Regions from separate parts of the Homo sapiens genome. Here regions 1, 2, 4, 5 and 6 are each linked to region 3. The links are contacts of gene promoters, found by promoter capture Hi-C in human tissues and cell types (Jung and others, 2019). All regions are on one chromosome and are shown on one strand. The core of a region is centred on a gene start or on the middle of the fragment in contact, and the rest is flanking DNA. Distances in the headings are between cores, read along the strand shown. Region 1 overlaps ERP44 (endoplasmic reticulum protein 44). Region 2 overlaps LOC101928438 (a long non-coding RNA gene). Region 3 holds the start of ANKS6 (ankyrin repeat and sterile alpha motif domain containing 6). Region 4 overlaps STX17 (syntaxin 17). Region 5 overlaps INVS (inversin). Region 6 overlaps TEX10 (testis expressed 10).

Region 1 (4,071 bases), core at 662-3,161, 1.3 Mb before region 3:
TTTTGTCACAGCTTATCTGATATTGACTCTTGCTGTACTCTATTTCTTCTAACCAAGAAGATTAAAAACAGTTTGAGTTTTTGCAACATTTATTGATTTTTAGCCTAACTTTGATTCCATAGAGAGGAACTCATCTATGGCCCAGGCTGCAGAAACTTAATCTGTATCTTTGTTATTATTTTTCTTTTCTGCCTATCATTTGAAAGTCTATTTGCAATCTACTATGGAGGAGAAAAAGATCATTGAGATGCATATCATGCCTTCAAGAAATTAGTAATTCAGATGAGGAGAGAAGATATATATATAAATAATTAGACTACCAAAAGGAAAGTAATGGATGCCAAAGGTGTTTGTAGAAGTGGGTTATAGATCCTGCTACTCAGAAGTGTGATTGTGAGCCCAGGCATCAGCATCATATGAGACCTTTTAGATCACCTCACCTCAGACCTACTGAATCAGAACCTGCACTTTAAGAACTTATACCCAGATGATTCATATGCACATAAAAGTTCGAGAAATACTGCCATGGATGTTTGGAAGAAACAAATTATTTCTCAGTGGAGGAATCAGAGTAGTCTTGGAAAAAGATGAATTTGAATATTGCCTTGAATAGTTAAATGGATCAACTTATTTTCAGTCCTGAATGGAATGAAGAAAAAGGGCAGTGCCTCTCAATAACATAGTAAATCTTTTCTATCAATTGAATACTTGTTTTTTATTGTTTTATTTTTAAGAAATCTTGTTGTCTGGTTGGCTGACGTGGCCAAATGTCAGAATTGGCCCTAAAGAAGCTGGCAAACCCTTTGGCCAACTTCATTAAAACAGTTTGTTATCAACTTAGCAAAAATAAAAATCATGATCTTTAGTGGGTTCTAACTAGCCTTCAGATTAGTCCATTCAAGAGGGGAGAGGAATAAAATGCCACTTTGGAGAAGTCCCTTCTGTAATGCTGTGGGTCTTGGTTCTGTCCTTGCAAAGACTGAAATCGAATTCTAACTGCTTTGGGAATCCTTGGTGATATTGTGGTCACCACATTCATCTCTGCAATTCCTACAAACCTGAGATTTCATCATTATGTAGAACTTTGAGCATTATATTGGACTCTAATTTTAAGTCACCTGAATTTGTAGACACGAACATTGCTAATATAGTAGAGAAAAGCAACAAAAAAGCAGAAGAAACCCATCTCAGAAAAACATTGTAGTAGTATTTGAGCTAAAGAAAACCATAGGCTGAATAGTAGAATACCAGTACTTTTTCCATTTCTTCCTTATTATAGTCTAGTAGTGGGACCTTTGGTGAATGGATTTAAGAAATTTTAGAAAAAGGTTGTTAGGTCATGTTTGACATCCTTCTGGGAAAAATAAATTTTTAAAAATAAAAAAGAGGTCATTAGGAATATAGATTATGAATGCATCTACAAAATAAAATGTTAGAGTTAAAATTTCTTGTCCTATAGACAGTACGCACTCATATTTACAAGCCTGCTCTTTAGCTGTTTTGTTGTATATTTTTTTTTTTTTGAAACAGAGTCTCACTCCGTTGCCCAGGCTGGAATGCAATGGCGTGATCTCGGCTCACTGCAGCCTCCACCTCCTGGGTTCTAGTGATTCTCCTGCCTCAGCCTCCCAGGTAGCTGGGATTACAGGTGCCTGCCACCATGCCCGGCTAATTTTTGTGTTTTTAGTAGAGACGGGGTTTCACCATGTTGGCCAGACTGGTCTCAAACTCCTGACCTCAGGTGATCCACCTACCTCAGCCTCCCAAAGTGTTAGGATTACAGCCGTGAGCCACTGTGCCAGGCCTGTTTTGTTGTATTTGAAGTTTTAAATAATGTAGGGGGAAATGCCAGCTTTTAAAAATTACCAACACATCATTGAAGTCTATCTCTTTGCTTATAGAACAGCTGCAAGTGTAAGATAATGTATTGTCATTTGGCGTTACCTTGAGAGAAGAAACCTGCACATCCTCAGTTCCTTTGACTTATTACTGGAGTTCTGGCCCAAGTACAGTAAAATGTCAGCTAGCCAGTGATAAGCTTACACTTCTGTAATGATTTTACCTCTGAAAGGGCTGAGAATAAAGAATAGCTACTTTTTTTTTCTTTTTTTGCTAGTCAAAATAATTTCTTAGAAAACAGCTACTCAAATGGACTCATTCCTCAAACTTTCTAAATAGCAGGAATTTTTACTGTAGGAGTGGATATTATTTCCTCACAGGAAGTCTTGTAGTGTGCTAACAACAAAAGTATTACAATGTTGTAAAATACTTAGTTCTTTGTTAGTTTAACCTTTGAATGAAATGAACAGTTTCAGAGACCCTAATTTTGCTTTAGAGTTACAGTAGTCCCCTCTTATCCACAGGAGGTAATGTTCCAAGATGCTCAGTGTCTGCCTGAAATTGTGGATTATACCGAACCCTATATATACTATGTTTTTTCTTATACATACATACCTATGATAAAGTTTCCTTTATAAATTAGGCACAGTAAGAGATCAACAATAGTAACTAATAATAAAATATACTGTTCACAGTTTCTTTATAGAAGATTTATTCTTAATCTAGATCTTAGCCACCTCAGCGTATGATTTATTTTCTTTCCATTTAAAGTCAAGAGCTTTCATCTTTTCACTTAAGGAAGCGCTTTATGGCTTCTCTTTGGCATATCTTTTTTTTTTTTTTTTTTTTTTTGAGATGGAGTCTCACTCTGTCACCCAGGCTGGAGTGCGGTGGCGTGATATTGGTTCACTGCAACCTCTGCCTCCTGGGTTCAAGCGATTCTTCTGCCTCAGCCTCCTGAGTAGCTGGGATTACAGGCACTCGCCACTACACCCAGCTAATTTTTGTATTTTTAGTAGATTTGGGGTTTTGCCATGCTGGCTTGGCTGGTCTCGAACTCCTGACCTAAGGTGATCCGCCTGCCTTGGCCCTCCAAAGTGCTGGGATTAACAGGCATGAGCCACCACGCCTGGCCTCTCTTTGGCATATCTTAATTGCCAGCATCACTACTCTTGTGCTTTGGAGCCATTATTAAGTAAAGTATGGGTTTTTGAACACAAGTATTGTGATTCCAGTACCACTACAGTTGATAAGGGGCGGGTTATGTCTGCAGTGGGAATATGCTGGACAAAAGGATGATTCACATCCCACCTAATTTGAAGCAAGATGGTATGAGACTTCATCACACTACTTAGAACTGCATGCAATTTAAAACTTATAAAGTGTTTATTTCTGGAATTTTCCATTTAATGTTTTCAGATCATGGTTGGATAAAGGGGACTAATGTAAAGACTGTGCTACATTTTTAAAGCATGTATCTTATTTGTTTCAGAAATCATCCAGTTTGTTTATTTGTACCTGTACTCTGGTTTTAGGATATCTTCTGGAATATTCGAAGTATTTCTTTCCCTTAATGATCGCTTGAATATATATAGACTAAAGAGAAAACTTTTAGAAGAATATTTAGTTTAGGGATCAGGGATTTGGGCCCAAATCTTGGATCTGCTACTCACCACCCTTCTTTCTTCTTAACATCTCTATTTTCCTATTAACTTCTGAGGAATAATACTGGTATTATGTCTGACTCCTAAGTGGTGGTGTTATTCCATGCTACTATTATGATTTTATGAAACAAAAAGTGGTGAAAGGTATCCCCTTTTCTCATTCTTAGATCTCAGTTTGTTGTACAATGCCTTATTATAGAGTAAATGCTTAATAACAATTTAAGTACTGTGGAAAAAGAAAAGGTAGGGCTTACGTGAGAAGGATCAGGAGTGTATTAGGGGAGTTGTAGTTTGTAAGCATCACGGGACAGGTGAGCCTTGAAGCAAGTGAGGGAGTTAGTCATTTGGATTTCCTGGAAGAAGAGCCTTCCAGGCAGGGCCGTTAGTCAGTGCAAAGCCCCTAATGTGGGAGTGTCCCAGGCATATTCAAGAAATAGCAAGGAGAGCAGCGTGATTGTCATATAGTGAATAAGATACAGCATATTAGAAGATGAAGTCATTTAGTTAAAACATATTTTGCAAAAGTGTACTTGCCCTTACTATGTATGTTGTTTACTGATAATTGTTT
Region 2 (4,432 bases), core at 1,812-4,311, 1.0 Mb before region 3:
TGCCTAGGCCTGCATCCAGCCTGGGCTCTCAAGGCCCCCCTGCCTGCTTTAAGTGAGACACTTTGTAAATGAAACCATTCTGCCAAGCCTTTCTATGGTTACTAAAGAGGCCTGGTTCCAGAATTCCTGTGGAACTCTCTGGTTATATATAAAAATTTTTTTGGAGTTCATGCTTGATATATGTTATATGTATATGTATGCAAATCAGATAGAGTGAAGAGATGGGAGGGATTATATTGGGTCTCCATTAAAATAAGAATAAAGAGGCATTGCAGCAGAGAACTCCATTATCAGTGGAGGGAAATTAGGAGATTTTCTCTAAAACAGGGTTGGCAAATATGTGCTATGTGTTGTGCCTGAACCTGAGTCATGATAGACTCACTAATCAGTCATGGCACTATTTCTCACTAGATCCAGACTCAGCTTTAAGTCTTTCTCAAGGTTGGGTTCTAGGTGGCTGTATCCACTGTAGTTGCTGTGGGAGACAAATGAGTTACTACTCTTGCTTCTAAGATGTTACATTAAAGTTATTGTTTTTTGTTTTTTTTTTTTTACAGTGGATTGACCAAGAAAGTTTTTGTTTGTTTGTTTTTCTTTGAGACAAAGTCTTGATCTGTTGTTCAGGCTGGAGAGCAGTGGCAAGACCATGGCTCATTGCATCCTTGACCTCCCGGCTCAAGCGATCCTACTGGCTTCAGGTAGCTGGGACTACAGGTATATGCCACCACACCGGGCTAATTTTTTTTAATTGTAGAGACAGGGGTTTCCCTATGTTGTCCAGGCTGGTCTCAAACTCCTGGGCTCAAGGGATCCTCCTACCTTGGCCTCCCAAAGTGCTGGGGTTATAGGTGTGAGCCACCATGCCTGGCCTGACTGGGAAAGTTTTAATAAAATGTTTTCTATCTGATAAATAAGTTCATGTTGAAAAATATGGGATGTGAGCAAAGAGTAATTATCTGGATTTCAGGCAAAGCACATGCCTTGTAGTTAAGATCATTGAAGCAGCATAATCACATTATAGATTTGTTATGGAGTGAAAACAATGTCATAATAATACTCATCAGTATAAATTGCCCATGGTATGGTCATGGTGATTGACTCCCCAGTATTCATCCCACCGCAGGTGATTTGTCTAAGCAGTCATGGTTAATCCCATTTCCCTTGCCGGTGAAGAGTTAGGAATGGCCTGTAACCTATTCTGGCCAATGAGAGATGAAGGAAAAGTCTACAGACGGCTTGAGTGCTTCTGGGAAAGGATTTATTGATTCTAAACAGAGAGAAAAGAAAGAGATGATGCCTCATCTCCCTGTGATTTTATGTTTGAGTATAGTGGCTAGAACTGCTCTATCCATCTTGGGACCATGAGGGAAACTAGCTTTGGGGGGTGCAGCTGATCTAGATGATGACAGAACAGATGGAAGAAACCTGAGCCCTTGATGACCTTCCTGAATTGCTGATTGTATTGTACTTGGTCTGCCTTACCTCTGAACTTCCAGTTCTGTGAGATAATACAGTTCCTCATTGTGTAAGTAGGCATGATCTGCGAATTTGTCATTTGCAGCCAGAAACATCCTGATGTGATACCTACTTTGTCCCAAGCAGATTCACGTCAGGTGGATTTGATATTATTTGGATAGGTTTCTTTTTGCTGGGGCTCTTCCCTCCCCATGTCTTCTGCCTTCATAAAGTGGATGCAGATTCTAACTGGCCAGGTCTTGTCTCTATCTTTTCTAAGGGGCTCTGCCTTAGACCAGGGATCTTCATAGGAAGCAGCAAGGAATCAAACAGCACTCATTGTCTCTTCCAGAGTCTTTTGGGTTGTTTGAATATCTGGTGGTGTGACTGCTACCATTTGTTGTTCATTCCTTCTTTTTCTGATTCTGATTCTGATTTCTTGCTTAGATCTTGGTCCTCACTTTTGTATATTTTGTGTCTCATGCCTGACCTCAAGATTGTTTGATAGATTTATTTTCTTCTCTTCTGCAACTCTTTCCCCTTATCTCCTTCATCCACTCCTTCCTCATCTTGTGACTTGATTTTGTGGCCAGTGGAGACTATTCTAAGCAGATGGGTATATGTTATTTGCCAGGAGCAATAGTGAGTTACATGAGTAATCATACATCTATTTGCTCTAGACTGGTAGAGTAAAAAGTAAGAGTAGTTCACCCCTTGGTCTTCTCATCTAGTACCTTTCACTCATGGCATAGAATAATAGAACTGGAAATGGTCTAGGAGTCAGAGCATTTGAGTCTTCATTATGGCCTAGCCATTTGCTACCTGAAATTTTGGGCAAGTCTCTTAAGTATATTTTTTCCTTAAAGTTTGTTGCTATTGTCTGTCTAATTTTTAAAATAGTATTATAGTGATTCAAATGAAATAATGAACCTGGCAAATGAGAAGGTTTTTTTAAAAAAACACTCAAACTTGGTTGGATTTTCTGTTTATTTTCAGTGAACTAATGTCAAAGTCTCTAAATTGTGTAGTTTGTTAGTCTCTTTGTAGAAAGGCAACGGAGTATGATGTGGGGCATAATAGTACAAGTAATTAGGGATTGAAATTTATATTTTAGTGTTAACTAGGCCTGAAAAAAAGAAAAAAGGCCACACGATATTAAAAATAAAGGTCAGGATGTTGATCTTGAGGCTTATTTCTAGTTCAACCAGAAATTCTGGTCAGCCGAATTAGGGGGAAAGAGAAACCAATAAAAGAAACACCCCCCTCTAGTGGCGAGGGGCCAGATTCTCCACTTGGTTGCTAAGATGGATGAGGGGAATGGATAACTTCTTAGGATATTTTTTGTTTCTTAAGAATTCTGAGGTTGTAGAGTTAGACTACTTAAGGGAGATCTTAGTTCAGGCTTTATTTGTCAGGAAACTTAACACATTTCTCAGGATAACTAGTATCTTGTCAGTCTCATGTGAAATTGGTTAAAAAATGTAGAGGCTACTGTTGTTGGAAGAGGTTCACAGTTTACTTTTATATAGGCCACATGGAGATCATGAAAATTAGGAGACATTTGTTGCTAAACTTCTTATTGGGTCTGAGATGATATAGTAGGTACCTTTATAATCCCATTCACAGGGGGATAAATATTTAAAGTTGTGGGTTATGCCATAGAGTAGTATTAATCTATGTTTGTACAAAATAGTGGCTGTGGATTTCCTAAGTTTTGATTTGAAATTTTTACTGGTGATCCTGAGAACCAAATGTTTAACTTGCATCTTGGGAATGATTTAATTGCTACCTATGGAAAGGCAGTGAAGTTAAGTATATTAAAATAACATCACCCATACTTTAGTGACTCAGGAGGAGCACCTAATGCTTTTTTTTTTTTTTTTTTTTTTTTTTTTTGAGGCAAGGCCTCACTCTATTGCCCAGGTTGGAGTGCCATGGTGCAGTTTCGGTTCACTGCAGCCTTGACCTCCTGGGCTCAAGCAGTCCTCCCACTTCAGCCTCCTGAGTAGCTGGGACTACAGGTGTGCACCACCACACCAGGCTAATTTTATTCATTTTTTGTAGAGATGAGGTCTCCCTGTGTTGCCCAGGCTGGTCGTGAACTGGGCTCAAGGGATTCTCCTACCTTGGCCTCTCAAAGTGTTGGGATTACAGGCATTAGCCACTGCACCTGGTGCACCTAATGCATTCTTGAAGGATGTTTCATCTTAAGGATATAAATCGTTAGTGATAATGATTGTAAGTGATTGTTACATTTGCAAATCTCAAAGTCCATTGAAGTTTTTACTGTTTCAACTTCTGTTTGGGAAAGATTATTTTACATTTGTTTAAAGATTTCTGAAGAGGCAAAATTTCAGAGAATAATATTTTTATAATACTCTGTTAGATCTAAGTTAAGACTGGAATGCCATTCAAATTCAATGGTTAAAAGGCATAAGAAAATAAATTCTTATATCAGACTGCATTATCAATATGCCATTTCCTTATTTTTAATGTCAAACTTCCTTGCCCTGAAGGAAAAAAATTGAAGCTTGCAGTTGACCAGCCATTCCATAACTTGGAGTATGTTTGGTGGCCTTTCTTATGAAATAGTAATGGAAAAATTCCATAGAAAATATAAACTCGTGTGTGGATGAAGTGAGATTATAGAGTTACGAAATTAATTTTTGTGCATAACTTGTGGAGCTGATAGCCTTAATTTATTATTGTACTTCATAAATATACTTTATTTCAGGAAAGAAGAACTAGGTCTGGCAGTAGATCAGAATCTACCTGTTGGGGAAAACCAGAAATAGGAAGAAGAGTTATTAATGGTTCATTCTTGGCTGAGAAGAATTCAGTATGGAATAATTAAGGTTAGTTTAGAGAAATAATATATGATTATGTTAAGGAGTTCACAAATATTATTGAAAGTAAACTGGTTAAAACTGATTTGTTAATGTAAATGGGGCCAATAAACCAATTAGATGATCTCGCT
Region 3 (4,415 bases), core at 1,527-4,026:
CCTCGGTTGCCTCCTCTGCAACCTAGGGATGATCATCTGGGCCCTCCCCGGTGGATGGCAGGCGTGCAATGAAGATCAAACGTGGGTCTCCAACTTTAGCATGCATCAGAATCACCCAGAGGGCTTGTTAAAATATAGGTTGCTGAACCCACACCCAGAATTTCTGATTCAGTAGATCTTGGGTAGGGCCAGAAAAATCTGCGTTTGTAACAGTGTTGCAGCTGGTGATGGTGCTACTGCTGTGTGGGACACACTTCAAGGACCGCTGATAAAGAGAGAGAAGGTATTTCATTTTCTTTGTGACCATTGTAAATGAGGTTGTGTTCTTAATTTTGTTCTCAGCTAGAATGTTATTGGCATATCAAACTGCTATTGCTTTTTATACATTGATTTTCTGTCCTGAAACTTTACTGAATTTGTTTATCATTTCCAGGAGCCTTTTGGCAAACTCTGTAGGGTTTTCTATGTATAGATTCATACTCTCCGCAAAGACAGAGTGTTCGACTTTTTCTTTTCCTATTTGAATGCCTTTTATTTCTTTCTCTTACCTGGTTGTCTGGCTAGGACTTCCAGTACTATGTTGAATAGGAGTGGTGAGAGTCTTCTTCCAGCTTTTGCCTGTTTAATATGATGTTGGCTATGGGTTTGTCATAGATGGCTGTTATTATTTTGAGGTATGTTCCTTCAATGCCTAATCTGTTTTGAAGATTTTTATTATAAAGGGATGTTGGATTTTATTGAAGGCCTTTTCTGCATCTATTGAGATGATTATATGGTTTTTGTTTTTGATTCTGTTTATATGGTGAATCACATGTATTGATTTGCGCATGTTGAGCCAACCTTGCATTCCAGAAATAAAGCCTACTTGATCATGGTGAATTGACTTTTTGATGTGCTGCTGGATTCTGTTTGTAGTATGTCATTGAGGATTTTTGCAGCTATGTTTTTCAGGAATATTGGCCTGAAGTTTTCTTTTTTTCGTTGTGTCTCTGCAAAGGGCATGAACAGACACTTCTCAAAAGAAGACATACAGGCAGCCAACAAACATATGAAACAAATGCGCAACATCATTAATCATCAGAGAAATGCAAATCAAAACCACAATGAGATATCATCTACACCAGTCAGAATGTCAATTATTAAAAAGTCAAAAAACAATAGGTGCTGCTAAGGCTGTGGAGAAAATACACTGTTGGTGGGAATGCAAACTAGTTCAGCCACCGTGGAAAGCAGTTTGGAGATTTCTCAAAGAACTTAAAATAGAACTATTTGACCCAGCAAACCTACTACCAGGTATATACCCAAAGGAAAATAATTCATTCTATCAAAAAGACACCTGTATATTCATTGCAGTGCCATTTACAATAGCAAGGGTATGGAATCAACCTAAGTGCCCATCAACAGTAGATTGGATAAAGAACATGTGGTACAGAGCCAGATGTGATGGCTCACACCTGTAATCCTGGCACTTTGGGAGGCCACAGCAGGTGAATCACTTGAGCTCAGGACTTTGAGACCAGCCGGACAACATGGTAAAACCCTTTCTCAACCAAAAATACAAAAAATTAGCCGGGTGTGGTGGCACTTGCCTGCAGTCCTAGCTACTCGGTAGGCTGAGGTGGGAGGATTGCTTGAGCCTGGGAGGCAGAGGTTGTGGTGAGTAGAGATTGCACCATTGCACTCCAGCCTGGATGACAGAGCAAGACCCTGTCAAAAGAGAGAGAGAGAGAGAGAGAGAGAGGGAGAAAGGGAGGGAGGGAGGGAGGAAGGAAGGGGGATAGGGAGGGAGGGAGGGAAGAGAGGGAAGGAATGAAAGAAATGTGGTGCATATACACGATAGAATATGATGGAATACTACGGAATACTATGCAGCCATAAGAATGAACGAAATCATGCCCTTTGCAGCAACATGGATAAAGCTGGAGGCCATTATCCTAAGCGACCTAAAAAGAACAGAAAACCAAATACTGCATGTTCTCACTTATAAGTGGGAGCTAAACATTGAGTACACATGGACACAAAGATGGGAACAACAAACGCTGGGGATCGCTAGGCCAGGGAGGGATGGAGGGGACTCTGGGCTGAAGAACCTCTTGGTGGGTATTATGCTTACTGCCTGGGTGACGGGATCGTTGGGACCACAAGCTTCAGCGTCGCGCAATTTACCCATGTAACAATTTACCCATGTAACAAACCTGTACCCTTTAATCTATAATAATAGTTGAAATAAAAGGTGGGGGAGAGAGAGAGAACAGGAGGCGCTTTTAGCCCCAGCAGCCTGGCCCAGATGAAGGAGCGACATTAAGGGCACCGCAGGACACTGTGAGGAAACAATCCGTTCGTTCCTTAATTCAGCCGCTTCCTTATTCTAGAAGGGCAGGTTCAGTGCCAGGGGCTGCGGTGGGGTCAGCGGAGCCCGCTAGTAAAGTCAAGGCCCACGCAGCTGCGGACTCAGACCCGGGCCCAGGGCCCTGACCACAGCGTGAAGAGGGGATGGCGTGGCCGCTCCCACCTCTGCCCTGACAGGAAGTTTCTGGAGCCCCGGGACAGGGCGGCGAGAGGGCGCCGAAGAGGCAAAAGGGAACACGCGGGTCTGCGGCGGGCGCTCCTCTGAGCGTCCCTGGACTCCCGAATACGGGCACTGGAGGTGCGCAGCCCCGGCCCTAGCGCGCTCCCGGCACACAGCAGGCGCGCGGCCCTAGCCCCGGCGCGCTCCCGGCACACAGTAGGCGCGCGGCGCGGGCGGGTGGCCGGAAGGGGGCGCCTGCGGGCGGTATCCGGGGGCGGAGCCGACGCGGCCGGCGGGGCGGACGGGAGCGGGCCGCGCGTGGCGGCGGCGATGGGCGAGGGCGGGCTGCCCCCGGCCTTCCAGCTGCTGCTGCGCGCGTGTGACCAGGGCGACACGGAGACGGCGCGGCGGCTGCTGGAGCCGGGGGCGGCGGAGCCAGCCGAGCGCGGCGCGGAGCCGGAGGCGGGCGCGGAGCCGGCGGGGGCCGAGGTGGCCGGGCCCGGGGCCGCAGCGGCGGGGGCAGTCGGGGCTCCGGTGCCCGTGGATTGCTCGGACGAGGCGGGCAACACCGCACTGCAGTTCGCCGCGGCCGGGGGCCACGAACCGCTGGTGCGCTTCCTGCTGCGCCGCGGTGCCTCGGTCAACAGCCGCAACCACTACGGCTGGAGCGCGCTCATGCAGGCGGCCAGGTGAGGCGGCGGGGCCCGGGGGCCCGGGACCAGAGTGGTGCCCGGCGCTGGCCCGAGACGCGGTCCCCGGCGGCCGGATGCCCCGGGAGGTGAAGAGTTAAGGACTCCTTAGAGTTGGAATGGTAAACTTTGAGTAGTCTTTTGTAAACTTTGAGCATAGACGTGGAAACACTTTTGAATTAACATAAAATCAGATTCTTAGAAATTTTGGCCTTTCAGAATAGAATCTGGAGACAGCGAATAGAATTGTAGAGACTTAGAACCTTAGAGATTTAATTCATTTCTTATTGCAGTAAGAGTTTCCTCAGAACCTGCCTTCCCTTCCTGGCTTGGCGTTGAGGGTGCTGCGAGACCCAGGCAGAGTCCCCACCCAGGGCATTGGTGGGCAGGCCAGGCAAAGGAACGAGCTTGACCGGAAAGGTTTGAGTAGCTGTGGGGCAGGTGACCCATTTTGGAGACGTGGGGGAAGGTTTCTGGTAGAAAAGATGTTTATATCCACGTGGAGACCTGCGGATACCTGAGAATTAGCCAGGACATTACAAGTGGGCTGTGGGAAGGCATGATGGGAGGCCCATGCAAAGGCTTGGGTGCACGAGCTGGTAGGACTGGTAGAATGAGGTATGCGTAGAATGTATGAGTAGAATGATGTACTAGTCCTCCCTGGAGAGAAGGCAGATGCCAGGGAGTTGGGGGAGTGTGGGAGCTGAGAAACGCTAGCTATCCTAGGGTGCTAGGGAGTCATGGAAGGTGCTAGGGAGTCATGGAAGGTTCTAGGCAGAATGAGTGACAGGATGAGAGTTACGTTTTGGAAAAATTACTTTCCTTGAAGTGTGAGAATAGATTAGATACTCTAGGGTAAGCTAGAGTCAAAAAGGCTGGTTAGGTAGAGTTTGCTGCAGTCTGAGTGAGAGGTGATGGTGGCCTAGACCAGAATGGAGACAGCGGAGGGAGGGCACCCAGATGAATTTGTGATATATTCAGGGAGTAGATCAGCAGGAGTTGACGACTGGCCCTTGGGGAGGGGTTAAGAGAGACAGCAAGGATGGCATCTAGAGATCTGGCTTCTGTGAAGCCTGCCATGATATCTCCCTGTTCTCTGGTCCCTCCGCAGCAGAAAGGCCTCTGTGGTAGCATCCATCACACCATGTTAATGCTGACTGGCTTCCTCAGTACCCAAACCTGGCCACACATCAGAATCACCAGGATGCTTGTCTAAG
Region 4 (4,364 bases), core at 998-3,497, 1.2 Mb before region 3:
TAAGCCTACAGATGGTCAGGAGGGGCCTTGCAGACCAGTTAAAGACTTTGGACTTTATCTGGCACACCAAAGAGAGCTGTTGAAGGGTTATAAGCAGAGAAATGCCATGATGACATGTGGCATCTGATCTACTCCTAAAAGTAAGCAATTATAACTCTAAGTTCATGTTCTCTCAATGCCCCTTTCAGCCAAACCTATAACTGAAATAGTATTTTATAAAACTGCATTACTATTTTACCTTTAAAGCCTATGAATGCTTTACCTCTCTAGGAAAAATGTTTCAATTGTTTAGGAAGGCCATAGTCAATGGACTAAAAAGTAATTTGTAGATTTATCACAACTGAGAATGTTTTTAATCTTATCTGAATATATTTATTTAACTTAAAGGAAGAGCAAAGGCAGGCGATACAGAGTAAGTTTTACATTAAAACAGTATGGCAAATAGCCAATATTTTAAAAGCTCTAAATGATTTTTACAAATGCTTAAAATAGTTACTCTATGCTTTACATTATTGCCATAAAGACACTCTCATTTTCACATCAACCAAGAAAAATGAATTACTCTATGACCTTTCTTCTACTTAATATTTCCAGGTATTTACACTTCTTTCACATTATGATGAATAATGATAACTTCATTATTATTAACAGATCAAATATAAAGGAGAACTTTATAACCATGACCACTCAAAATATTTTTTAAAGCCATAATTTATGTACTATTAAAGAGGATTCAAATGAAGTTTGCGAGGGTATGCAATGAAATGAGGACAGATTATTATATATTAATACTTAATCTAAAAAAATAATGTGTGGGAAATGTTTGACATTTTAAACAAACATAAAAGATTTCCCTCAGTAAAGAATAAAAATGTTTAAGTCATTTACGTCTCACTTGAAACCAAACTACGTATGCATCTTAGTTCAAACAGAGTCTTAGAACAAAGAGGTCTGTGCTCTTCCATAAAAAACCCTGATGTAAACTTAAAACTCTAAACCTCGCTAATCAATTCAAGTCATGACTATCAATTAAAGCAAATCTTTTCATTTCTACAACTTCCATAATTCATTTATTCCAGCTTGCATTTAAAATCACTACCTCAGTGACGATCCTTTGAACTTTTACGAACTGCTATGGACATGATAAGGCAAAACGCTGAGATAGATTATAGTTTCAGGAAAGAAAGCTGAAGAACTTTAGATCTGCCTACAGAAGTAAAAAATTGTAACTGTTTCATGTAACATAATCATCTCAGGTACTCCCACCCACACACAAACCAGAAGCATAAAGGGCAAGTAGAACATAGGACCTATCACTCACCACTGTTTTTTAAACCCCAGGATTGGTTTTAAAACCTTATTGTTGGTTTAGTTGAAGTGAGAAATAAACGAAATAACCTAAGACTTTTCCCTTTTATATATATCCAAGTACTCTCTCCCTCTTTCTCCATACTTTATGAACAGCAATGATTTTACCAAGAATTATAGTATATAAAAAATTTCCACTAACCTTTACCACATAAGAAAAAGTTTTATTATAAATCTAAATTAATTCAAAAGCATTGCTGAAATGTTTTCCAGTTCTGATAGTTTAAAAATAGTGAAATTAATTTACTGATCATCTACATAAGCCTATCAAAATAAAATTACTTCTAAGCATGGCTTAACTTAGCTGCAAATGAAGACTTAAAAAAAATTAAAACCAATAGAAAATACATCTTCTGAATCATATAATACAAACCATCTACATGTTTCATAAAACTGTTCAGTACATGTATATACCTGTGATAAAAATCTAAATTTCATCAAATTCAATACGCTGGTCTGAAGTTCCCAGCAGTTTTAAGATTATATTCTTTTCTTTTGTGAATATTTGTTTAAAATGTAATAAGATTCTGTTCCTTTTGTGTTACTGAAGTGTGTGTCCTGAGAGTAAAGAAAGACAAAAATGGAGAGAAGCACTGATTCACTCTGTATGACTTGAATCACCTTTCTAAATACAAATCAGATTTGGAGGCTCCTCACTTCACTTGGTGGAAAGCAATATGCTAAAAATGAAACCAGACACACAAGTGAGACAGAAGGGAGTTTCTCAGATCAAGAAGATTGGCAGAGAAGATTTGCTTTAGGAACTCTCGGAATCTGGACAAAAGAAACAGCAAAATCATCACAGCTTCTCCCTAAACTTAATAAGCTTCTTTCATTCTCCAGAGAATATAAAACATCCTATTCTACTTGTTATTTCTATCTGTAAATGAAAAACTATTTTTGTATTTTTGATCTTACTCATGGAAATGTGGCAACATTGCTTCTGAATCTCTGCTGATGTTTCCAACCAATTTATTTAGAATCAGATTGAATTTGTAAAGTAAAAAGTATTTTAAGGCACTTAACTTCTATGCAATAAAACAGATTTTCCATATAGGCTGTTGCTACTATAATAAGTATCTAAAGCAAAAATAAGGAAAAACTGGAGAGCATAGAATAAAAACATGTAGAATGACAAAAACAGTCTACAGCTAGAAGACCAAATATGGAGCAAACTCAATTCCTACCCCACTATTAAAGTCTTATGTAAATTAGTTACTTGCTTTCCTTTCATTATTCATTTCCTTTTCCATTCTCTTATTTATTAATAATATTTCTGGACTTGAGGCAATATAGCAGAAACTCTCACACTTGGCGAAATACTCAGGCACTTGGTGAGACAGTAGTTTTTTAATTGCTTTATGTTGGCAGTGGATTAATAGTGAAAGCACACTATGACAAGCAGACTATTGAATTTGAAATTCTATACACTATTTTAGGTATAACCTAGGTATTGATTTTATTAATAGAATGACTGTCTCAACCAAATCAATACTAGTTATAGAGATTTAATTTTTTAGTTTTCTCCTAGTAATTAGGTCTTTAATAGCCCATTTGGTGAATTGAGAAGTTTGAGAATCAAGAGAATTGGGAAGTGAATTTCACCTGCTATTTCTTCTCCCTCATTCTCTGGCTCTGCTCCAATTTTTTCATTTCCTTTATGCACATACTTCTTCAAAATCTGCCGAAGTTTTTTTTTATATACCAATCAGCTTCCTATGGAGAAAGTTAATTGCCAGCAAACTGGGTAAACTGCCTTTTTCTATTAATAATAATCACCCAATTTCTCTGATGACATATAAGCCCAAAGTTGTTGATCCCGAACAGTTCTACTGGCAGTAAAACAAATAATGCAATAATAAAATGCAAATTAAAGCAAGTATTAGGATATTAAAATACTGTGAGAAAACTCTCAGATGAACTCCAAATTTTTGTTTGATAGGGGAATTGCTAGAGATAGGCAATTCAAAGCTAAGTAGCAAAAAGATTGATGTTAGTTACTCTTTCCAGAAAATCCAGGTTATCTTCACAGTTATTATTACCATCACAACTATCACAATGTCTGGGTACATAAGATGAGCCCTTAATCACATGCAACTATAAAACTCAGTTACTCCACATGTGCACATAAAGCATCAGTTTGCACTAAGTGATAAAAACGGCCTTCAACCTCACCAATATGGCAGCAATAACTATAGATGAACAGAATAATGAAACGGTAATTACAAACTATCAAAAAGCATTCTTCCCAAATACTTTTCAACCAAGGATTGAGTGCTAGCATCTCCTTCTCTCAAAAACATTTACAGTACTGGTTATCCACAGAGTGAGGTGGTTACAGTGCATGTGAAATTACAAAATTGTCTCTAAAAAGATATTTATGTATTTATGTTTATAAAACATTTAGGTCCATTATGTGCCAAGCATTGTGCTAGGTACTAAGGCTACAACAAAAGCAAGATTACCCAGAAACTCTGACTAGTGGCCTAAATGTTTCTTCCAAAAGCTTTTTTTAATCTCTCTGTAAATTACTGGATCATTAGCACTGAAAATATAAAATTAAAAATAATCTGGCTTTGGAGATAGTGATGCAGGAGTGCCCTGAGTAAATAAAAAAAGAAAAAATGGGCAGATGTAACATTTCTTTTTTTTTATTTTTATTCTTATTTTTATTTTATTGTTATTATACTTTAAGTTCTAGGGTACATGTGCACAATGTGCAGGTTAGTTACATATGTATACATGTGCCATGCTGGTGTGCTGCACCCATTAACTCATCATTTAGCTTAGGTATATCTCCTAATGCTATCCCTCCCCCCTCCCCCTACCCCACAACAGTCCCAAGTGTGATGTTCCCCTTCCTGTGTCCATGTGTTCTCATTGTTCAATTCCCACCTATGAGTGAGAACATGCAGTGTTTGGTTTTTTGTCCTTGCGATAGTTTACTGAGAATGATGATTTCCAATTTCATCCATGTCCCTACAAAGGACATGAAC
Region 5 (4,349 bases), core at 1,795-4,294, 1.4 Mb before region 3:
CTGCCCTTATGAATGGATTACTGCTGTTTTCATGGGAGTAGGTTCCTGATATAAGTGAGTTTGGTCCCCCTTTTCCCTCACTTGTTCTTGCCCTCTTTTGTCCTTCTGCTTTCCACTGTGGAATGACACAGCTTGAAGTCCCTCAGCAGATGCTGATAACTTGATATTGGACTTCCCAGTCTCCAGAATTGGGAGAAATAAATTTCCTTCCTTATAAATTACCCAGTCTGTGGTATTCTGTTATTGCAACACAAAACAGGCTAAGGAAACCATTTCCATTTCCTTCAGGGATATGTGAATGCTCATTTCCCTACAGTTTTGCCATCAGAACATGTTGTCAAACTTTTGGAGTTTTGCCAATCTGAGACATGAAGCATGTTATCTCTTTGTGATTTTAATTTGTATTTCTTTTATGACGAACAATATTGAGCATATTTTCATATATTGAAGGGCCATTTCCTTTTCTGTGAACTATCTAGATATACTCTTACTCATTTTTATAGGATCATTGGTCTTTTTCTTCTCCACCTTATATATGAGGAGTATTAAACCTTTGATAATGATATAATTTGCAAATATTGTTTCCAATTTGTCTTTTTTTTTTTTTAACTTTGCTTGCCACATTTTCTGGAAGGAAAAAGTCTTTCTTATCACTATGTAGCCATATTTATTAGTCTTTTTCCTATCACTTCTATATTTTGACTTGCAGATAGAAAGTTTTCCTTACACCGAGATTCTTCACTGCAAACCTTCTTGGTATGTTTAACATTTTACAATATGTGTAAGCATTATAATCCAATTAAATAACAATTTAAAGCATGCACCTGTGTGCACCTGTACACACACACACACACACACACACACAATTAGTTAACAATCTGTACAACACTGAAATAACCAAAGTTACATACATGAAGTTTACAGTCATTACTTCAAAGTACAGTCTAATATTTCAGCCCAAATTCCTTAAAAGAAAATGGCTTGAAAAGAGATGACTGACAAAGTGACAGGAAAGACTTGAATAAAAGGACCCAAACCATATCTTCTGAAATCTGTAATTGTTTAAGATAAACTATGAGTATATGTCTAATAAATTGCCTGAAAATGAGTAGTTATATTGGTGAAATGTTAATTTTACTATTATAAAATCTGAAAGACCACATATTTAGACAAAGGTTGAATTTAAAATACTTTGAGATATAGTGTAATGCCTGATACATATTAAATACTAAAAATTTATCTGTTGAACAAATGAATGAATGAATAAATGAATGACATACCCATCAGAATTGGAATGGTGAGCAAGTGGATTCTGATAGATTATACAAAATTTTTCAAGAGGCTGAGTTAATACTGACGACATAATTTAGACAAGTATAATAAATGAATAAAACAACTTTTTAAATTAGTGAAGTTTATTTTAGTACTAGTGTTTCAATGATTAAGGTTTTCTATAAGCAGTATCTATTTTAATATCAAAGATTAGGATGAGAATCTTGGTGACTCATAAGTGGGAGAGATGACAACTATACTGAATGGCCGACTCAAGAATCAAGAGGACCTGGGTAGGTTACATGATGAACCCAATTCAATTCAGCAAGCATTGATTGAGTGTCGTTAAGTACTACTAGATATTGGAAATAAGATGACTAAGACACTCTTACATATTAAGATGTTCATCATCTGTGGAGAAATAAAACATGTAAACAAATAAATATATTTCAGTGTAAAAGGTGGTATAACAGTGGTTGAGTACACAAGGTACTGGAGGAACAAAGGATACAATGGTCAATTTTACCTAAGTATGTCTGGGAAAGTTCAAAATATGGATACAATAAGATGCTGCCTTTGGGTCCAACAACCACGGCCATATTAATATAGGACGTAGTTTAGGCAGTTGTAAGTATAAAGCAGATTTAGAGTTTTTATTTGAAAAATCTTAAATATGAATCAGCTGTATTTTGTTGCTAAAATGTCAACAGTTATAGTCATGTAACACTCTGAGCTCATCAGACTGGCATTGTATTCTGTTGTAGGTATCACATTTTCAAGGGAATTTAGACAAATATGTGCATATCTGGTGAAAATGATCAGGATGAGAAGGAAACTTGAAAGCATATTATATGAGGAATGGGTGAAGGAATAGATAGTACTAAAACTGGAGGAAAATGTCTTCACTTGGCCAGAATGATTCTTTTATAAATACATAAGTCAGACCATGTCACGTCTTTCCTCAAACCCTCCTCATCTCATTCAGAGTGAAAACATATTCTTGACAATGGCCTATAAGGCCCTACAGGATCAGGCCACCATTCTTTCTCTTTCTTCATCTCTTAGCGCTTTCCTTTTGCTCATTCATTATAAGGTATATATATATTTATTATTATTTTTTTAGACAGGGTCTCACTCTGTTGTCCAGGCTGGAATGCAGTGGTGTGATTATGGCTTACTGCAGCCTCAACCTCCTGGACTCAAGTGATACTCCCATCTCAGCCTCCTGAGTGGCTAGGACCACAGGCATGCACCACCATGCCTGGCGAATTTTTAAAAATTTTTTTGTAGAGATGGAGTCTCCCTATGTTGACCAGGCTGGTCTCAAACTCTTGGGCTCAAGTGACCCTCCCGCCTTGGTCTCCCAAAGTGCTGGGATTAAAGGCATGAAGACTAATTTATACTAATTTTCTTGTTATTTTGCAAAAATTCTAGGCATGCTCCCATCTGAAGGCCTTTGTTCTGACTGTTTCTTCTGCCTGGAATGAATGCTCTTCCCTCAGGTGTTCACATGGCTAAAGTTCTCACCTCCTTTAAGTCTTGCTTCACATGTCACCATCTCACTGAATACTATTTTGATTGCTTAATTTAAAATTACAACCTGTCTCACTGAATACTATTTTGATTGCTTAATTTAAAATTACAACCTGTCCTCCCCAGCCATCCCCTCTCTGGTTCTCTTAATCCCCCTCACTTTGGCATTTTAGTTATCATCTGTTGTCACATTTGTAAATGATCATTTGCACCTTGTGAAAGCTTAACAGCTAAAGGAGGTACAAAGAGACCTCCTTTATTGGTCCTATGATTGGTCATAGGAAAAATGTCGTGCCCAAGTGTTGACAATATTCACACTATAGGAATAATAATCATCCTGATTCCCTCTCATCCTTTTATGAGTCATAAACTATGGGTAGGAGAAAAAACAAGAAGAGGAAATTACATAAACAAATAATGGCCCTATGACATAAGGTAATTAGAAAATTAATGCTCAAATTTTCTTTAGAATTGATGTTATATACAAAATTAATTTTTAAACGGTTAAATGAAAGTAAATGGATTTGAAGTCCCTTTTTACCAGCCATAAAAATATTTGCTGGCCCTGTGCCCAGAGTTTAAAAGAAACCAGCATGAGTCTAATGAAAAACAAGCTGTAGGTTTCATCGAAATTCAATATATACTCTTTCTTTTCCTTTTAGTTTTTGATTGGTTTCCATGGGAATCTAGGCTTGTGAGATCTCTGATCTATTCATGGAAAGCAGATGCTTGTATTTTCATGACTTGGTAAAAATGGGAGTCAGAGAAGAGATGAAGATGATTAGAAAATGAAGATGATTGTAGGAAACATAATCATATTTAAAACAAAATTCCACAGCCATGTAGATTTTAAAACAAAATCTTCAAGGCTGCTCTACTATGTTTGAGAGGTATGATAAAGAAAAAACAGTGTATTTAAAGAAAGAAGCTTTGGGTTCAAATCCTGAATCTGACCTATGAGAAAGAAACCCTTCAGTACTTCTTTGGAGGTTTGACAGGAAAACTGGATCTGGGAATTACTCAAGGCCAGAAGAACAAGAAGTCTGAGAAAGTAAGCTTTAGGAAAGTATGTAAATTTTCTCCCAGTGCAGCAGTATCAGGAACACTAAGATGAGAATCAGCAAATCAGGATAATTTGTCACTCTGCAAGTGACAAGGTGACCTTGAAGAACTTTTTCAAATTATAGTTCAGTTTATGTATACAGAAAACACATAATATACAACTATTCCAACTGCTATGAAGCTACTATGAAGCTAAATGAAGTTTTTTTTCATACTAGAAACATGATAGAAAAATTCAAAGTGGCGATTTCAATCAAGATGTGTTGACATGTTATTCCTAGTGACTATACATTTTACCCATGTAAATAGAAGTACATAAACTATAATCAAAGTGTTAAAGGACAGACAGGTTTTTATTTCAACTCGTTTTGATTGGAATACTAATTTGAAAGTAACTAATAAGATCCTAAATATCTGAAAGCACCTTCTAAACTGGAAAATGAGAGGATAGGTTTAGAGATAGTTTCTACATATGGAAGAAC
Region 6 (4,332 bases), core at 679-3,178, 1.5 Mb before region 3:
GCTGTTGGATGTTGCTTCTCCCGTATCCTCTTATTGGACATAAAGTAGTCATTCAACACCACAGAGTTTATTCTAGTTATATCCTGTTTCTTTTTTGTACCTGCTTTCTCTGATAGAAACCTGGCTCCAGTTATACTTAATATATTTACTTGATCAGCTTCTCTGTCTATAATTAGTCTTCCTTTGCTGCCACCCCTCTCATCTCACTCCATTTGGGCTCTGGTTCTTTCGGGCTGTCTACTCTGGGCCATCTCAGCACTCCCACCAAATCCAGTGCCAGAGTTTACCTAGTTTGGCTCCAGCCATTGGCTTTAGAACTGAATTGTTTAGGGCAGCAAGGGGAGGCAGAAGGGAAGTGATGAAGTGGTCATTATTGAATGTGCACTTTTCAAATGTGGTTTGGATTAATAAAAATATTCACCATGTTTGTTTTGGAGTAGGAAGATGGCCTTGGAAATGAGTTTTTTCTCATTGTTACTTAATGGTATAAAAGAAGTTACCAAGTAAAATATCTGGGTAATATCTACAAGATATTTTACAGAGAAATAATGTATAGATCTGTTGATTCCCCCCCCCACACACTCTCAAATCTGTAAATAACAAGTATAAAAAGTCTTGATTTTTCAGGGCTAGATGACAGCTCTCTTGAACTTAACTGACTGATCTCTTCCTAGAGTGATATTCATCCTTCTACCATTCTTGTTTTTTCATGTGATGTTTTTACATATTTCATTTTTGGTAGTATACTGTATCAGATTCTGGAGTTTGTGCTGTGACTGATATCTGTGAAGGACTTAGTACTGTTCTTGACTCTTCTTGTTTTTCTGAGAACTTAGGAAATTAAAAATACTAGGGGTTTTACTTCTAACTCTCTACTTTTTGTGCAGATTTCTTTTTTACCTTTAGAGAAGGCAGTGTTATGATTAAATTGAACAGGATATTTGTATTTTCTGGGTCATAAATATTTTTCTGTGATACATTTCTCTATCAGGTGGGCAAAAAAAAGCTTTTGTTAGCCCTTTGTTCATATCACTCAGATCTTTCTGTCATAGCACTCAATAGAAATACAGTATGCCCTCACTTAATATCCTCAGTAGGTTCTTTAGGAAACAGAAATGACATACACGGCAGGTCCTTGAATAACACTTATTTTTTGGAGACAGTGTCTCACTCTGTCATCCAGGCTACAGTGCAGTGTCACCATTATGGCTTACTGCAGTGCAGCCTCAACCTCCTGGGCTCAGGCGATCCTCCTGTCCCAACCTCCTGAGTAGCTGGTACCACAAGCATGTGCTACCACATCTGGCCAACTTTTTTTTTTTTTCTAGATGAGGTACCACTATGTTGCCCAGGCTGGTTTCAAACTCCTGGGCTTGAGCAGTCCTCCCACCTTGGCCTCCCAAAGTACTAGAATTACAGTCATGAGCCACCAGGCCTGGCTGAAAAACGTTTCTTAATAATGTTGATTGGGGGGAAAAAATGATTGCATTATACATTGTTTTGCTTAAAGTCATAGTTTCCGAGAACCTGCTGAAGTTGTTAAGTAGAGGACTTACTGTGTGGTCTCCATGTTGGTAGATTGTAAGCCACTTGAGGGGTATGAGAAAGAAGAGAAGGTTTCTCATTCTTTTATTCCTGTGCATGGCATCTAATAGGGGCTAGCTCAATATTCAACATATGATTAGTAGATGAATTATTTGGAAAATTAGGCCATATATAAGGTCTATTTGTTTGATCTTTGACATTTGCATCTTCAAAATAATTTGTTATGTGTTTCCTATTAATATGTAGAGCAAGTAGGTATTAAAAGAATCTATTGCTGGGCACAGTGGCTCACACCTGTGATCTTAGCACTTTGGGAGTCTTGAGGTAGGTGGGTTGCTTGAATCCAGGAGTTTAAGACAAGCCTGGGCAAAATGGTGGAACCCCATCTCTACTAAGAATACAAAAATTAGCCAGGCGTGGTGGTGTGCACCTGTAGTCCCAGCTACTGGGGAGGCTGAGGCCAGAGGATTGCTTGAGCCAGGTCACGGGGGTTGCGGTGAGCTGAGACTGCATCACTGCACTCCAGCCTGGGCGACAGAGTGAAACTCTGTCTCAAAAAAAAGAATCTGTTGAACTTGTTTCTGATCTAAAATGTTCTGATTTGGTTAGTGGTTTTCTCCTTTTCTGACAGGCAGTTTTTCACAGTTTATTGGTTATTCCTGCCCGAAGTCAGAACTTTGACATCTTGCAAAGTGCCATCAGTAAGCATTTGGTAAGTATCCTTAAACTTTTTCTCTTAAGAATGAACACAGGATGCATTGGTTAGAATAGAGTTTTCCACAGCCCCAGAAAGAGCATGTCTGGAATTCTAAGATTAATGATATCATAGTCTCTTGCAGCATGATGCATTGGCAAGAACTGAGGAATCTTGGTATTTTTCCTGGCTGTTATTAATTTACTTCTGAGTGACCTTGGGAAAAGTCTCTTCTTAGGACCTCACTTTTCTAAATCAGTGAAATAAGGGACCTGAAAATTAAACTTCACATCCTTTCCAACTTCTGTAATTCACGTGTGCTTGGCCTCATTGTATTGAGAATTCAACATCTAGACTGAAGTCTGGGTTCCACCTAGAAGGTTTGGGGTCCAAAGTAGGCACATCATCTAACCCGGCACAAGGTGTGGTCACTGGCAGCTGTAGACTCAACCCTGAGACTGACCTGTTATTTGATATTGGATGTCTCATTTCCATTGGTATTAAATTCACATTAGATATACCTCTGTAGTTGCTTTTAACTTTCTCCAGTGTTTATACTCTTATCTTTGGCTTTTTATTGTAATGTGTTATAGTACAAAGCAGGGCTCCCAAATTATATCTTTGAGAAACACACTTGTTTGGATAAAATATAGGCACATCCAGACTCCTTTTTCTCTTAAAATGTTACTTCCCTTGAGTTGGAAGAGAGTACTGCTTTGAATTCCTAGTACTTTCTCCCTGCTGTCAAACTTCCAGTCCTTATCCCTGTGCCATCAACAATGCCCACTTTTTTTTCCCTACCTCCACTCCAGAGAATTAGACTCTCCGTTGACTACATTCATTATTCTAGTAAAAGATCAATATGCCAGTCAGTCTTGGCCACTATTTTCACACAGCCTGTGGAGGAGGTTAAGACATCAGAGTTTGCAGACTTTGTAAAATCATTACCCAACAGTAGTCTCCAGGAGATTGAAACCATGTATATATACAGTTACAAGTTAGACTCTACCTTAATGACAATGCATACAGTACATTCTAGATGAATTAGCAAACTCTAATGACCCTTCCTGGGTTTCCTGGCAGTGAAACAGTCAAATGTTAACTATAGTAATATCTTTTACTGACTCCAGTAGAGGTATGTTTATTCATGTCTGAATGACTAAATCAAAGTGCAGAGGAAGGCTAATTTTGAAATGAACTATTTATACATTTAATTACCTGGCATATGAGTGGTGCCACATGCAAGTTTTCCAGCCTGAATAATTTAAAAATTTTTAAGTATGATTGTTGGTATTCAGATTTTCTTTGAGTGCATGAAATAATCCCTTTAAATAGTTATTTCTAACCAGCAGTAGACATTTTATAGAACATTTAGAAGATTCTGTCATGAAGGGGAGGCAGTGGATTGGGTTAATAGCACTTCTTGTGTTTGCATGTTTTCAAAGTCATATAATTTAGGGATTAAATTCTCAAAGGAAAACAGGACCTTAAGGTGTGGCAGGTGGCATATGTTAGGTATATATTGGTTTTCAGTAGAAATAATGTAAAGTTAATCGTGAATTAACAGGTTTTGGTTTTATGTGGAGGAGCGGGTCTGTTATGAAGAGGTGATTAATCTCGTTTTTCTCTGCTTAGGTTGGGTTGACTGTAATTCCTGACAGCACGGCTGGCTGTGTTTTTGGTGTTATCTGTAAGCTCCTGGATCATACTTGTGTAGTTAGTGAGACTCTACTGCCATTTCTGGCTTCTTGTTGCTACAGTCTTCTTTATTTTCTGCTCACTATAGAGAAAGGGGAAGCAGAACATCTAAGAAAGAGGTAATTATTTTTTATTCTTCAACCTTAATTTTCCTACTGTTCCTCCTCCCCCAACCAAATAATAAAATAGACAGTTAAAGATAATTAGGTTATACAGATACCTTAAATTCTGTTTCAGAGAGTTTGTGTCAGCCTAGCTAGCTTTTTCTTTGTTCCTTCATGAATCCCCTTTGTGTTGTAGTGAAAATTTTTAGTTTTTTGTTCTTTCCCCTTTAAGTTACAAATTTGAAAACTTAGATGGCATTATAAAATTTCTTGAGAGGTTTCTTTTATTAA

The links. Contacts are between HindIII fragments. The study calls those that stand out against the background at their distance.
Region 1: a contact is called between a fragment that was not itself captured here and the fragment with the promoter of ANKS6 in region 3, in 1 of the 25 tissues and cell types used here (dorsolateral prefrontal cortex).
Region 2: a contact is called between a fragment that was not itself captured here and the fragment with the promoter of ANKS6 in region 3, in 1 of the 25 tissues and cell types used here (dorsolateral prefrontal cortex).
Region 4: a contact is called between a fragment that was not itself captured here and the fragment with the promoter of ANKS6 in region 3, in 1 of the 25 tissues and cell types used here (spleen).
Region 5: a fragment that was not itself captured here is called in contact with the fragment with the promoter of ANKS6 in region 3 in 1 of the 25 tissues and cell types used here (mesenchymal stem cells).
Region 6: a fragment that was not itself captured here is called in contact with the fragment with the promoter of ANKS6 in region 3 in 1 of the 25 tissues and cell types used here (spleen).

Annotation. Positions count from the first base shown.
Region 1 is chr9:100,088,201-100,092,271 of GRCh38, reverse strand. The region is part of intron 1 of ERP44 (endoplasmic reticulum protein 44); the gene reads left to right. Among named protein-coding and RNA genes, the nearest start is that of ERP44, 8.8 kb to the left of the region's middle. The HindIII fragment of the contact is 3,296 bases long and covers 264-3,559 here.
Region 2 is chr9:99,805,749-99,810,180 of GRCh38, reverse strand. LOC101928438 (a long non-coding RNA gene) reads left to right here. Exons shown (of 7, transcript NR_109802.1): 2 at 4,190-4,310. Among named protein-coding and RNA genes, the nearest start is that of NR4A3, 14 kb to the left of the region's middle. The HindIII fragment of the contact is 4,940 bases long and covers 592-4,432 here.
Region 3 is chr9:98,794,916-98,799,330 of GRCh38, reverse strand. It overlaps ANKS6 (ankyrin repeat and sterile alpha motif domain containing 6), which reads left to right and starts at 2,776. Exons shown (of 15, transcript NM_173551.5): 1 at 2,776-3,198. The coding sequence starts at 2,840. It overlaps LOC124902229 (a long non-coding RNA gene), which reads left to right. Exons shown (of 2, transcript XR_007061689.1): 2 at 1-883. RefSeq lists enhancers at 2,512-3,012, 3,013-3,513 and a silencer at 2,634-3,253. The HindIII fragment of the contact is 18,100 bases long and covers 1-4,415 here.
Region 4 is chr9:99,952,714-99,957,077 of GRCh38, reverse strand. The region is part of intron 4 of STX17 (syntaxin 17); the gene reads right to left. Among named protein-coding and RNA genes, the nearest start is that of STX17, 48 kb to the right of the region's middle. The HindIII fragment of the contact is 4,483 bases long and covers 6-4,364 here.
Region 5 is chr9:100,149,522-100,153,870 of GRCh38, reverse strand. The region is part of intron 3 of INVS (inversin); the gene reads right to left. Among named protein-coding and RNA genes, the nearest start is that of INVS, 52 kb to the right of the region's middle. The HindIII fragment of the contact is 3,331 bases long and covers 1,379-4,349 here.
Region 6 is chr9:100,308,224-100,312,555 of GRCh38, reverse strand. TEX10 (testis expressed 10) reads left to right here. Exons shown (of 15, transcript NM_017746.4): 12 at 2,177-2,257; 13 at 3,875-4,056. Among named protein-coding and RNA genes, the nearest start is that of TEX10, 43 kb to the left of the region's middle. The HindIII fragment of the contact is 6,335 bases long and covers 1-4,332 here.